2 separate regions of the Homo sapiens genome follow, and region 1 is linked to region 2. Evidence: promoter capture Hi-C in 16 types of primary human blood cells and fetal thymus (Javierre and others, 2016). All regions are on one chromosome and are shown on one strand. Each heading gives the region's core, a stretch centred on a gene start or on the middle of the fragment in contact. The rest is flanking DNA. Distances are from core to core; before and after follow the strand shown. Region 1 holds the start of NECAP1 (NECAP endocytosis associated 1). Region 2 holds the start of ING4 (inhibitor of growth family member 4).

Region 1 (6,585 bases), core at 3,098-5,597, 1.4 Mb after region 2:
TGGACAAATATGTTCAGCATGAATAAAAATGGCATGTATGGAAAATTATGGCAATGTGATCAGTTAAGCTAGAGAAGACATCGTGGGTGAGAGTGAGGAAGACTGTATTTTTTTCTGTTTCTGTTGAGATGAAGCAAGAGAAGGGAAATTTAAATTTATATAAAGAAAAAACATGGTTAAGTAAGGGTTTTTTTTTTTTTTTTTTTTTAGGTGAAAGGACTTGAATATACTTACATGGTGAGGGAAAGGGGTGAATGGAAAATGAGTTTTAAGATACAGGAAAGAAAGGAGATAACTGATTAACCAGGTCCCTGAGGAGATTGGTCCCTGAGGAGAATCCAGGGCACACACAAGTGGATAGGAGAAAGAATAGATGAAGATGCAGATAGGAGTATGAATAGGGTGTCATTAAGTTGAGAGAGTTCACACAAACTTTATTTTCTTAGGGAAGTAGTAAGATGTTTTACCTGTCAAGAAAGAAAAAGAGAAGACTTAGAGTTGAAGGCCTGAAAGGGCAGCAAAATTTGGAACAACCATTAAAGGGAATGAAAATAAAAACTAGCAATGGCAAATCTGGGTGTTAAGGGCAAAGCTGAGACTCAAACCCATAAACTTTTAGGGACACCAATCTTTATAATTGTGTGATTTGCTTTTGGAGAATGATGGAGGGAGATGGTTGGAATATATAAGACTGGAGTCTTTTGGGTTGGCTGTGATGGAAAGACAAAGAGGAAAGGAAACTTAAGGATGCTGGCAAGAGAACTGTTGAAACAAGGAGATGGGAGGAATAAAGAGAAGGCTAACAATGTGCAGAACATGAAGAAGAACAGGTGAGGTAGAAAAGAGAGGTAAAGATAGTTAGAATTTATGTCAAGAGATTGTATGGCTAGGAAGAGTTAACTATATGGGCTTTGAAATCTCTAAAAGATTTGGGAGAAGAGGAAGAGTATAAACTAGTAAGAAGGTGAACCAGAAGCCAGAATCCTCCAAAAATGATTGCCAGTGATAACACAGAACAGAGAAAAAAAAAGAGGTACAATGTGGTGTAGTCATATGACCTAGGCTTCAGATGAGATCATAGGGTCAGAAATAAGGAACAACAAGTAATAAACCACTTTTCTGTCTTTATTTTTCTTTTAACATGTATTCAGTGACAATAATAGCTATATAAATCTTAAACAACAGAGAAATATATGGAGGAGAAAATAAGTTTCTTTCCCCCACTTAGCCTTATATCCTTTGAAAGCCTTCTCAATGCATTTACATGCATGCATATATAATTTTGGGGTGTTTCGACAAAAGTTGATAATGCTGTATGTTTTTTGCAGTTGGCTTTAAAAAATCTTGGATCTCTTTCAATGGCTAACCCTTTAGTTCAAAACATCTCATAGTAATAGATATACCATTAACCATTTCCCATTGATAGATGGTCATTTTGTTTCCATTTTTTTCACTATTACAAACAATGCTGTAGTATTATTGTACATACTTTTTTGTGCATATAAGGATTTCTCTACAATATTTATTAGTGAAACTGCTAAATTGAAGATTACGTCCAATTAATATTTTGATAAATTCTGTTAATTTCCCTTTTAAAAATGCCGTGCCAATTTACATTCCTGCCAACAGTGTATGAGATTAGACTGTTCCTCACGTCCTCGCCAGGGATAAATGTGGTAATTCTTTTTGAAATTTAAGATATCACTTTCCAAGGTGGAGCAGACAAATTAGAGGCAGGTTTGCTTTTTTTTTTTTTCTCATTAAACTTTTTTAATGGGTCTCAAAATTCTGTGACAAATTTTTGGATGTTTCCATTAAAAAGTACTGATTTAAAAAACTAATAACTTAAAACTGCCACACGCAAAAAAGAAAACCAGTGGTCCACAAAACATTCTCCTTTCCTTCTGAAGAAGAAAACCAGTGGTCCACAAAACATTCTCCTTTCCTTCTGAAGGTTTTACGATGCATTGTTTTCATTAACCAGTCTTTTACTACTGAACTTAAATGGCCAGTTGAAACAAACAGTTCTGAGACCGTTCTTCCACCACTGATTAAGAGTGGGGTGGCAGGTATTAGGGATGATATTCATCTAGCCTTCTGAGCTTTCTGGGCAGACTTGGTGACCTTGCCAGCTCCAGCAGCGGTGAAGACTGCTGCTGTTGTAATGAGGCAGGCTTGAGTTTCTGTCTCAGTTTTGCCACTTGCTATCTGTACTGTCAGGGTGTTGTGGTTAAGTTTACCTTTGGGGCGCAGAAAAAGCATATTTATGGTGAGAGTTCGGTAGCATTTATCATTATAATAGAACTGGGAGCTAATATAGGCCATTAGATAGTTCATTATGCTTCCGATTTTATCAGGAATTGGGTTGATCCCACGTATAGTCTATTTAACAGGATCAAATTTTCCAAAAAGATAATCGGAATACACGCCGAAAGTGTGGCAAAACATTTTAACAGGTGTCGTCCTGAAAAATCGGAGATAAAGAGTGTAAGGCACTAAATCAAGTTGGGTGTTTTCAGCGTTTAGACTCTGGAGAGTTGAAATCCACGGTGTCTATGACCAGATCATACATCATTCTCTGCAGGTACCTCGTCTGGGACTACCGGCTGGAGGTTGCCTCTTTTCTGCCAGGAGACTACAGTTAGGAAGTGACTCCTGTAAGAAAATCCGTCACGATTCAATATGGTCCTCGTCCTCGTAGGACACTCCAGGCACCTGCCTAGAGTAAGATGGCGCTTTTCGTAAGCACCTCTCCAGGACAGAGATTTCCATAACGAGAGTCACGCACTTGCAGGCCATCTTTGCCATTATCCAAGACGGTGAGCCGTGCAGCCTCATCGTTTCCAGGTTTCAATATGGCTCCCCGCGTCACCGAAAAGGTTAATCTCAGAAACTAACTTGAACTCGCGCGGAAGTGACGCAACAGAAGTTGTCGCGCTTTGCATCTCCGCCTCCCGTGCTCCGCCTCCGGTCTTACGTTTCGCCCCCGGCAGCGCCGACAGCGGACCCAAGATGGCGACCGAGTTGGAGTACGAGTCTGTGCTGTGTGTGAAGCCAGACGTCAGCGTCTACCGGATTCCGCCCCGGGCCTCCAACCGCGGTTACAGGTACTAACCCCGAGGCGCTGCCGCACACGCGTACTCTGTCGCAGATGACAGCTTCCTTCTCAGCTAGCACGCTGTCCGTCCCTGCCACTACTACCTCTGTATTGTCACCTTGCTAGCCTCCCTACCTGGGTTGTCATCTCCCTGACCACCTGCTCCATCTCCACTCTGGACTGTCATCACCATATTTCTGCCGTTTTTTTTTTTGTTTTGTTTTTTATTAAATTACCACTCTGCGTTATTCCACTCTGCCTCTCCCGTAATCCCCTGGGGCACCCATCTGCTCCCCATCATGCACTTTCAGTCGTGCTTGCTCCATTGCCAGTCCCCTTTCATTCGCTCTTCCCTGCGTCCTTCAGCTTATCATCCTCATCCTTTCTCTCTCTCTCTCTCTCACACACACACACACACACACACACACACACACACACACACACCTTTCCAGTTCCCCATGCACATTTATGGGTAATCGTGTTGCTTGCCACTCTGGATTATCTGATTTATTTTTTGTACTGTTGTCAATTTCGTCACCAACTGTCATCATCCACCATTCGGTTTTTCCTTCAGCAGTTTTACCAGTGAGCAAAGGTTATGATCATAAGCTTTACAACGGTTGTTCATTCTGTTTCTTCTCATTGTATTTTCTTGATGATTATATAGTATTTTCTGTCTTCCTTCCCTACCTCCCTTCTTAACCTCTCCTACACCTTTTCCCTCCAAAGTTGAGGCAGCATTTTTCTCTGTTGGGCCTAACTACCTACCTTGTAATCCAATGACTGTGAGGTTCTGAGGATGCTATAGGACATTATGTAGTTGAAAGACAGTTCACTGGGCTTCATGTTAAACCATATGAGTGTGAGCCCTTTCCAAGCCTCAATTTTCTCATCTGTAAAATAGAAAAAAAAACCTGTTAGTGATGATACCTGCGCTCTTATAATGTGCTTAACAAGGGTTTTTGGGAGAGTAAAATTAAATCATATAATGGATGTGAAAGAATGTAGGAAATGCAATAAAGCAGTTACAAATACTATTTGTTTGTTCTTTTTTTTTTTTTTTTTTTTTTTTTTGAGATGTAGTCTCACTTTGTTGCCCAGGCCGGAGCGCAATGGCTCAATCTCAGCTCACTGCAACCTCCGCCTCCTGGGTTCAAGCGATTCTCCTGCTTCAGCTTCCTGAATAGTTGGGATTACACGCATGCACCACCACACCTGGCTAATTTTTGTATTTTGAGTAGAGATGGGGTTTCACCAAGTTGGCCAGGCTGGTCTTGAACTCCTGACCTTGTGATCTGCCCACCTTGGCCTCCCATAGTACTGGGATTACAGGCGTGACACCACGCCCAGCCGTCGTTTTTTTTTTTTTTTTTTTTTGTTAGAGAGGCAGGGTCTCGTTCTATCATCCAGGCTGGAGTGCAAGTGGTGCAATCACAGCTCACGGCAGCTGTGTACTCCTGGGCACAAGGGATCCTCCTACCTCAGCCTCCCAAGTTGCTAGGGCTACAGGCATTGCCTCACAATGCCTGGCTAATTTTTAAATTTTTTTGTGTAGACAGGATCTTGATATATTTCCCAGGCTGGTCTCGAACTCCTGGCCTTAAGTGATTCTCCTGCCACAGCCTCCCAAAGTGTTGAAATTACAGGTGTGGGCCACTGCACCTGGCCAAGATACTGTTCTTATTCTTCTCTCTGACCCACATCATCATTGTGATTTTTCCTCCTGGCATTTATCATTACCTTGGCTGAAAAGTTACCCTCTCCTTATGTCTGTTATTTTGCCCCTTACTGGCGTTTTATTCATCATGAATCAATATTTTTATGCTTGCTGACCTGTGCGCTGGGCCCTGTGGGTTGCACCTTTGGCAAAGAGGTAGCAGTTCTGTTTTTAATAAGCTTTTAGTTGGACCCCAAACTGACCCTAAGTAGAAATCAACATGCTTTTAGATGGTAGTTACAGGTACTATATGAGTCACTTAAACATCACCTTCTTTGGGAGGCCCTATGTGACCCTTCCATTCTGGTTTAGATATGCACCCTGTGTGCTTCCATAGCACCTTTTTCTTTTTCTTTTTTACTTTAAGTTCTGGGATACATGTGCAGAATGTGCAGGTTTGTTACATAGGTATGCATGTGCCATGGTGGTTTGCTGCACCTATCAACCTGTCATCCTCGCCCCTCCCCCGAGAGGCCCCAGTGTGTGTTGTTCCCCTCCCTGTGCCCATGCGTTCTCACTGTTCAACTCCCACTTGTGAGTGAGAACATGTGGTGTTTGGTTTTCTGTTCCTGCATAGCACTTTATTCTTATCTCTATTCCAGGGCTCTTCATTTTGTATTGTAATGGATTACAGTGGATTGTACAATGGATTGTTTAGTCTCCTTTTTTCTCCAGGCTAGACTGTGAACAACTTGAGATCTTTTTAACTTTATATTCCCAGGGTCTAGCACAGTATCTGGTACACTTTGGGCACCCTGTAAATGTTGACTGAAAGAAGAAATCAGTAGATTACACAGAGAAACCTAATCACATAAAGTGGCATTGATTGAACTGTTAAATAAGGTCAAATAGCTCATTACTTCCAACTTTAGGAGTTAAGACTCCTAAAGGATATGATACATATTGAAGTGGGATTATATTCTTTTTCTTGAAGTTTTTTTTTTTTTGAGATGGAGTCTGGCTGTGTTGCCCAGGCTGGAGTGCGCTGGCGCAATCTCAGCTCGCCACAACCTCCGCCTCCCCGGTTCAAGTGATTTTCCTGCCTCAGCCTCCCAAGTAGCTGGGACTACAGGCACGTGCCACTATGCCCAGCTAATTTTTGTATATTTAGTAGAGACGGGGTTTCACTGTGTTGGCCAGGCTGGTCTCAAACTCTTGACCTCGTGATCCGCCTGCCTTGGCCTCCCAAAGTGCTGGGATTACAGGCGTGAGCCACCGCACCCGGCCTACTTCAAGCTTTTTAAAACACCTCCCCTCTCACCCATCTTCTCTATCTTCACTTCTTAGTTTTCCACAACCTTTATACTTACATCAGTTAACTGCACTGAGCCATTAAAGCAGTTTCTTAATTTTCCTCTTTTTCCTGTTATCCTTCTGTGTTTTCCATGTCTACTGGCATTTTTTATCCTCCAAGAGGCACCTTATCATCAATCACTTTTTTAGTACAGCACATGAAGAGAGCGGAATTAAGTTTGAATAACGATATTTATTTGCTGGGTTACCTTTGGCAAATCACCACTTTTGAATGTTAGTTTCTTCATTTGTAAAAATGACTATAACAATACTTACCTTGTAGGATCCTCTCACTTAATCTTCTTTTTTTTTTTTTTTTTTTTTTTTTTTTTGTTGTTGAGACAGAGTCTCGCTCTGTCACCCAGGCTGGCGTACAATGGTGTGATCATGGCTCACTGCAATCTGTGCCTCCCAGATTCAACTGATTCTCGTGCCTCAGCCTCCTGAGTAGTTGAGATTACAGATGTGCACTGCCATG
Region 2 (6,751 bases), core at 538-3,037:
ATGATCCGCCTGCCTCAGCCTCCCAAAGTGTTGGGATTACAGGCATGAGCCACCGTGCCTGGCCACCAGCCTTTGTTTTTTTTTTTTTTTTTTTTTTTGAGAGGGACACGGAGTCTTTCTCTGTCACCCAGGCTGGAGTGCAGTGGTATGTATGATCTTAGCTCACTGCAATCTTCACCTGCTGGGTTCAAGTGATTCTCCTGACTCAGCCTCCCAAGTAGCTGGGATTACAGTCACATGCCACCATGCCCAGCTAATTTTTTTTTTTTTTTAAAGTAGAGACTGGGCTTCACCATGTTGGACAGGGTGATCTCAAACTCCTGACCTCAAGTGATCTGCCCGCCTTGGCCTCCCAAAGTGCTGAGATTACAGGCATGAGCTACTGTGCCCAGCCTGTCTACCTCACTTTCTAAGCAGGAAGAAGCCACCTTAGATTCTTCCTTCTCTCTCAACCACTCAGTCATTCAGTCAGTCCTTTCATATTTAACTCCTAAATACTTCTGTAACTCCCTAAAATCAGGTTCTTATCTCTGTCCTGGAATGTTATCACTAATTGATCTCTGTTATCAACAATATCATGCTCCAATTTACCATATATTAGTCATTTTCCTCTATAAAAATCATACTCTACTTTAAAATGCAAACTTCTTCGTTTGGCTTAAAAGACCTTGTCCAATCTAGCCTCAGCCTCTTTCTCCAGTCTCCTTTCTCAATTTCTTACCTTAGATTCATAAATATCAAATACGCTGACCTCTGAGTCATAAATATCAAACACCCTTGACCTTGCCACAAACCCATCACAGTACCTTTGCGGATGCTTTCCCCAACCTGGAATTCCTTTTTTCTCTCCTCACTGGCAAATAACCTTCAAGACCCTATTCAAACATCACCTCCGCTGTAAAGCTTTTCCTACATCCCCAGGTAATTACCCCCCTTTTCTCCAGGGTTGCCTACCAAGTGTCCTTTTTAATGTATTTCCATTATCTCACTTGTCACAGTGTTTTATAATTATTTGCAGAATCTGTTTCCTACTAGATCGTGAGCTTCTTGAGGGCAGGAGCCTTGTCTTACTCATTTTTCTATCCCTAGTGCCTGCCATTATGTCTGACCCATAGCAGGACCTCAATAAATATTTGTTGAATAAATGACTCCGGGCCCTAAAACAAATGTAAGCGCACAGAGCAATAGGCTTTCTGCAGGGGTGGTTTACATAAATCGCATAAACACCAGATTTTCATTTGATGGGAATTAGATCTTTACTCCATGAAGAGAAGCGTTCTAGTTCATCATCTGACAGTGGTCACTCATCACCACCACTCTCAACCCCATGAGAAGCCACTTTTGAGGAAGAATGGAGTGGAGGAGAGGTCTTTACCGCTTCTCCAAATGGCAGTGTGTGATAACGATTCTGAACGACTATGGGGAAAAAAATCTACCGAGGCTGGAGACCCTGGAGAATGGGGGCAGCAACTATCTTCCTGGCCATGCACACTAGCCCTTCAAGACACGTCTCTAACCCCCACACCGCACCCCTCCCTCGTCTACACCCATCAGCGGGGCCTCGATCCTGCTGCCCCGCCCCCTCTTTCTCCGCACCCTCCAATATTTCCTGCCACAGAACCGCTTCATAATTGTGACCTTCTCGTCACTGGAACTTAAGGGCTACAGATCCTCTCATCCCTGATCCCCGCACCACTCTGCAGCCCCGACCCCCACCTCCAGCCTGCTCTTACTGTCCAGATAATGTTCCAAATACATCCCCGCAGCCATCTCGAAGCAAAACAAAGCAACTTCCGATCCGCCCCGGAAGTGACTGTAACGCGACAGGGGCCGAAGCCATTTTGCGGCTAAAGCCTTTCCGCCCTTAAAAGGAGAACTTCCGCCCTTAAAAGGAGAACTTCCGCCCTTAAAGGAGAACTTCCGCCCTTACTATATTACCGCCGGTACACATCCGCCCGACACTGAAACTTTTCCTTTTGCATGGTAGCCACGACCGCCCACAGTGAGGCGGCTGTAGCCCGCTTCCGCCCTTACAGACACCCCAGGACGCGACCGAGACAGGTATGACGTCACTGGAGGTCGCCATTTTGCATTCTCTAGCAAACTTTTTTCCCTCCAAAACGGGAATGTATGGTAATCCGTGCAGGGGTAACTGTTCACTTTAGGCTCATATTGCGTAAACATACCTTCTCAGCAACTGGAAGATCCAACTTTTTTTCCCTCTTTTGCAGAATGACTTTTTTCAAGCCAGTTAGTTTCTTAAGGAAGTTGGGGAAGAGTATCAGGCCTTGAGACATTTAAACCGTCTGAATTTCTATTCACTCACACAAACACCATCTCCCCCAGCATTATTTTTTTAACTTGAGAAAGATGATCACCTTTCTACTTATAAATACAAAGAATGACTCATAATAAAGCTATAATTCTGCACATCTTTTGTCAGAGCTCCTGTACGTTACACTAGAATACACTTTCACATATAAAATATTACTTCCTGCCTTGCCCTCTTGCTTTTTTTTTTTTTTTTTTGAGACAGAATTTTCACTCTTATTGCCCAGGCTGGAGTGCAATGGCGTGATCATGGCTCACCGCAACCTCCACCTCCCGGGTTCAAGTGATTCTTCTGTCTCAGCCTCCCGTGTAGCTGGGATTACAGGTATGCACCATCACGCCAGACTAATTTTGTATTTTTAGTAGAGATGGGGTTTCTCCATGTCGGTGAGGCTGGTCTCGAACTTCCGACCTCAGGTGATCTGCCCACCTCAGCCTCTCAAAGTGCTGGGATTACAGGTGCGAACCACTGTGCCTGGCCCCTCTTGCTACTCTCTAAGGGGGAAATCTCGTGTTTTTGTTTTCCTTTTGTTTATATGTGATGTTAGCATCATAATTCTGAAGGGATTGAGGGATGCAGCAGTATCACTACTGGGCTAGTTGGCTAGTTAGTTGCTAGCCATCACTCTAGTCAGCTATGGTAGAGTGATTTCTATGGTTTTCATCAGAATGGGAAGCAGTCAAGGGTATGAGAGGCTGCCAACACACTAGGCTGTCAACACACTGCCAACACAAAGGCCATAACCTAATAGTGGTGTTAGTAAGATAGTATTTTAGAGATAGCTGCCACCCCTCACACTTTTCGTACCCTCACACATCCTTCATAAGAATTACCAATGTCTTACGGCAAGTTTTTAAAGAGACAGACTTTCAGCTATATAATTTCTACCAAATATGTGGAGAAGAGGAACTTCCAACCCGGGGCGGATTGGAAGTTGCTTTGTTTTGCTTCGAGATGGATGCAGGGATGTATTTGAAACATTATCTGGACAGTAAGAGCAGGCTGGAGGAGGGGGTTCAGGGGCTGTAGAGTGGTGGGGGTATCAGAGCTGAAAGGATCTGTAGCCTGTAAACCCCAGGTTTACTAGTGTGCAGGTAGTAAGATACAGCAATAGAATCCGGGAAACTGCTCTAATTACAAAAGTCATGCTTTTCGGTAACTTGATCTCTGTGCCTGTTTTACTATACAATGAGACTACTACCTCCCTCATAGGGTTGTTGGAATAAGTGAGTGTGAGTGTATCCATAAAAAGAGTAGATTCTAGTTCTAATACTGGTGATGAAGTTAGGGCCATTAGGGCCTTTTCAAGAGTTGGTGAGAGTGGGAGGAAAAAGCAGTAAATATGCAGGGAGCTAAGAAACATTGGCATATTTGGTCATATGTGATACATTCATTGGTATTACACAACATATTGAGACACCATCTTAGGTGCCCACACAGGATATCTAGCACTAAATTAAGTGGGCTTTATTTATCCCAGCCCAACTACATAACAAGTACTATTGGCCAGCAGTCCCAGAGTTCTCAGGATGTGGGAGCTTGGTCACAACTTTCACAACTTTTTCGGTGCTTAAAGCAAGGTTTTTTTTTTTTTGTTTTTTTTTTTTTTTCCAGACAGAATCTCGCTCTGTGGCCCAGGCTGGAGTGCAGTGGTGCAATCCCGGCTCACTGCAACCTCCGCCTCCCAGGTTCAAGTCATTCTTCTGCCTCAGCCTGCAGCTGGGACTACAGGCGCGTGCCACCACACCTGGCTAATTTTTGTATTTTTATTTTACTTTTTTGAGAGAGAGTCTCACTCTGTCGCCCAGGCTGGAGTGCCATGGCACGATCTTGGCTCACTGCAACCTCTGCCTCCTAGGTTCAAAAGATTCTCCTGCCTCAGCCTCCTGAGTAGCTGGGATTGCAGGCGCCCACCACTATGCCTAGCTTATTTTTTGTATTTTCAGTAGAGACGGGGTTTCACCATACTGGCCAGGCTGGTCTCGAGCTCCTAACCTCATGATTCACCTGTCTCGGCCTCCCAAAGTGCTGGGATTACAGGCGTGAGCCACCGTGCACGGCCATCAATTTTTGTATTTTTAGTAGAGATGGGGTTTCACCATGTTGGCCAGGCTGGTCTTGAACTCCTGACGTCAAGTAGTCTGCCTGCCTCGCCCTCCCAAAATGCTGGGATTACAGGCGTGAGCCACCGCACCCAGCCTTAAAGCAAGTTACTTAATTCTCAAAAAAGGTATCTTCAGAGTTATCTAGTCCAATCCCTTCACTAACAGTTGAAGAAGCACCCTGGCCAACACTGGTTGATGGTAGGCAAAGGGCTGAAGTCCAGGTTTCATGACCACATTCTACTCCATAGTACTACAGCTCTCCTGCATAAATCAATCTTGCACCCCTTAACCGGTTATGATTTCCACAAGGTAACAAATACACATATGTATACACATTGCCAACTGCAAGCCCCTCTTCCACAGACTCAGGCAGGAGTGTAGGTCCTTTCAAGAGGCTTCCATTTTTCTTCCATAGGGAGCTTAGCTGTTTTGTTAACACATAACCAAAGCCTTGCTCTCACATATTTAGGCAATGCAATCCCCATGACAGAATGTGTATGTAGAAGTCCTCATAAACCAGGATTTCACTGGAGACATCATGAAACTGTACCCTTCCATGACTGGAGAATTGCACAAATGGGGCATCATCACACAAGCACTTGTTCATCACACACACACTCTGGTATAAATCCTCAGTACTGTTCTTGGACATCTCCCCAAATACCTTTTCCGCATGCTCGCTCACATCAGTAGCTCCACTGCCTCTGATCCTTTTACATGAATTTATTTCTATACAATGTTCTAAAAACACCCCTTGGTTTGTACATAAGTTTTTTTCTTTTTTTCTTCATTTTTAAATTACTTTATAACAACTGGTTTCCTGATTTTTTTTTTAATTTCCTTTCCTCTGAAATCTGCCATGATTTAAAAAAAAAAAAAAAAGACAAAAAGAAAAATGCTGTGGCTAGAGGACAGGGGTGGAGAGAGGGAAAAAAAGGACAAAAATAAACAAAACATCAAATATGAAAATTCTCAGAGATAATGCATTTATAAACACAGAAATGGTTACAACAAAGATGGCCGTGATGAGTGAGTATAATATATTTATATATATATATTTATATATAAATCCGTGTCCGGCATCTGACTGTGGCACCTAGGGAGCTAAGTCCAGTCCTTGCGTTTGCCTTGAACTCTCCCTTCTCCGCAACACCCCTGTTTTGGAGTTTCACAGATAACACAAAGCCTCCCACAGCTCCTTGGGGGTGGGTTGGGGAGACTGAGAGTATAGGGTCTTTGTAGGCAGAGAAGGAGAGAGGCTTCAAGGAAATCCGTAAAACCATAACACACACTTCTAAGCCACCTGTGACCAACTTGGGAATTTCTGGCCCCTTGGGGACCACATCTCAGCCCTTGCCCCCTTCAAATAAAAGGAGGTCTAGCCCCTACCCCAAATCTCCTTCTACCAGCAGTCAATAGGAAGCAAAGTGAGACGATGTAGGGGAAGAAATGGCTCTCAGGGACTGAGGCATTTGAGAAACCTCTGTTCTTTTGCAGGCAAGAATAGAACAAGAGGCTGGTTGCATTTGGGGCTCCCTTTTCTCTGTTATCTGGGAGGGCCAGCCTCTAGTCTTACATCAGCCCAAACTTTGAGGATAAGGAGGGTAAGGATAGGGTAAGTGGCCACACTGGACAAGGTTCTATGAGGTCATAGCAAATCCTTCCCTTGAGCACCGACCCCCAGTTTTAGAAGCTTTGCTTGGGAGGGGAGGCTGCTGGATGACACCATCAGCTCAGTATTCCTTTGCAATCAGGAGGGCTGATGTTCCTTTTGAAGAAGAGTTCAGAAAAAGGATGGTATCCTGTGAAGGAAAGCCGTGACAGAGGCCCAAGGAGATGGAGCCAAGGCCTGTCAAGGAAGAAAAGGACTTTTCCCACCAAGAGTTGGAGAAAGAAGACACCAGGACTACTTCTTCCTCTTCCCAGTGGGTGGCAGCACGGATCTCTAAGAGCTGGCCAGGTGCTCCACCTGGATGGTGCTGGTGGTGACAGTGAGGCAGATGTCCTTATGATGCTCCGCCGTCTTATACGGGGTCAGGTCAAAGGAACACTGGGGTGGAGGGTTGGGATTGCTGTCCCCACCACCCCCACCCTGGGGGGCTGCCCCAGGAGACTGGAAGTGTGGTGGTGGCTGTTGCTGCTGCTGCTGCTGCTGCTGCTGCTGCTGCTGCTGCTGCTGTGATGCCTGGGAGGCCTGGGCCTGGGCCTGGGCTTGAGCCTGAGCCTGAGCCTGGGCTTGAGCTTGAGCCTGGGCCTGGGCCACTGCTGCCGCTGCTGCTGCTGCCTGCACCTGTTGCTGAAGATCAGGCGGGTT

Evidence for each region. Contacts are between HindIII fragments. The CHiCAGO score rates a contact against its expected background, and 5 or more counts as called.
Region 1: a contact is called between a fragment that was not itself captured here and the fragment with the promoter of ING4 in region 2, in 1 of 17 cell types (non-activated CD4 T cells). The highest score is 9.2, in non-activated CD4 T cells.

What each region holds. Positions count from the first base shown.
Region 1 is chr12:8,079,277-8,085,861 of GRCh38, forward strand. It overlaps NECAP1 (NECAP endocytosis associated 1), which reads left to right and starts at 2,998. Exons shown (of 8, transcript NM_015509.4): 1 at 2,998-3,107. The coding sequence starts at 3,013. RefSeq lists enhancers at 2,260-3,459, 2,891-3,110, 3,181-3,240. The HindIII fragment of the contact is 1,287 bases long and covers 3,705-4,991 here.
Region 2 is chr12:6,661,332-6,668,082 of GRCh38, forward strand. ING4 (inhibitor of growth family member 4) reads right to left here and starts at 1,788. Exons shown (of 8, transcript NM_016162.4): 1 at 1,734-1,788. The coding sequence starts at 1,770. ZNF384 (zinc finger protein 384) reads right to left here. Exons shown (of 12, transcript NM_001385745.1): 12 at 5,146-6,751. The coding sequence ends at 6,383. RefSeq lists an enhancer at 1,759-1,818. The HindIII fragment of the contact is 5,227 bases long and covers 902-6,128 here.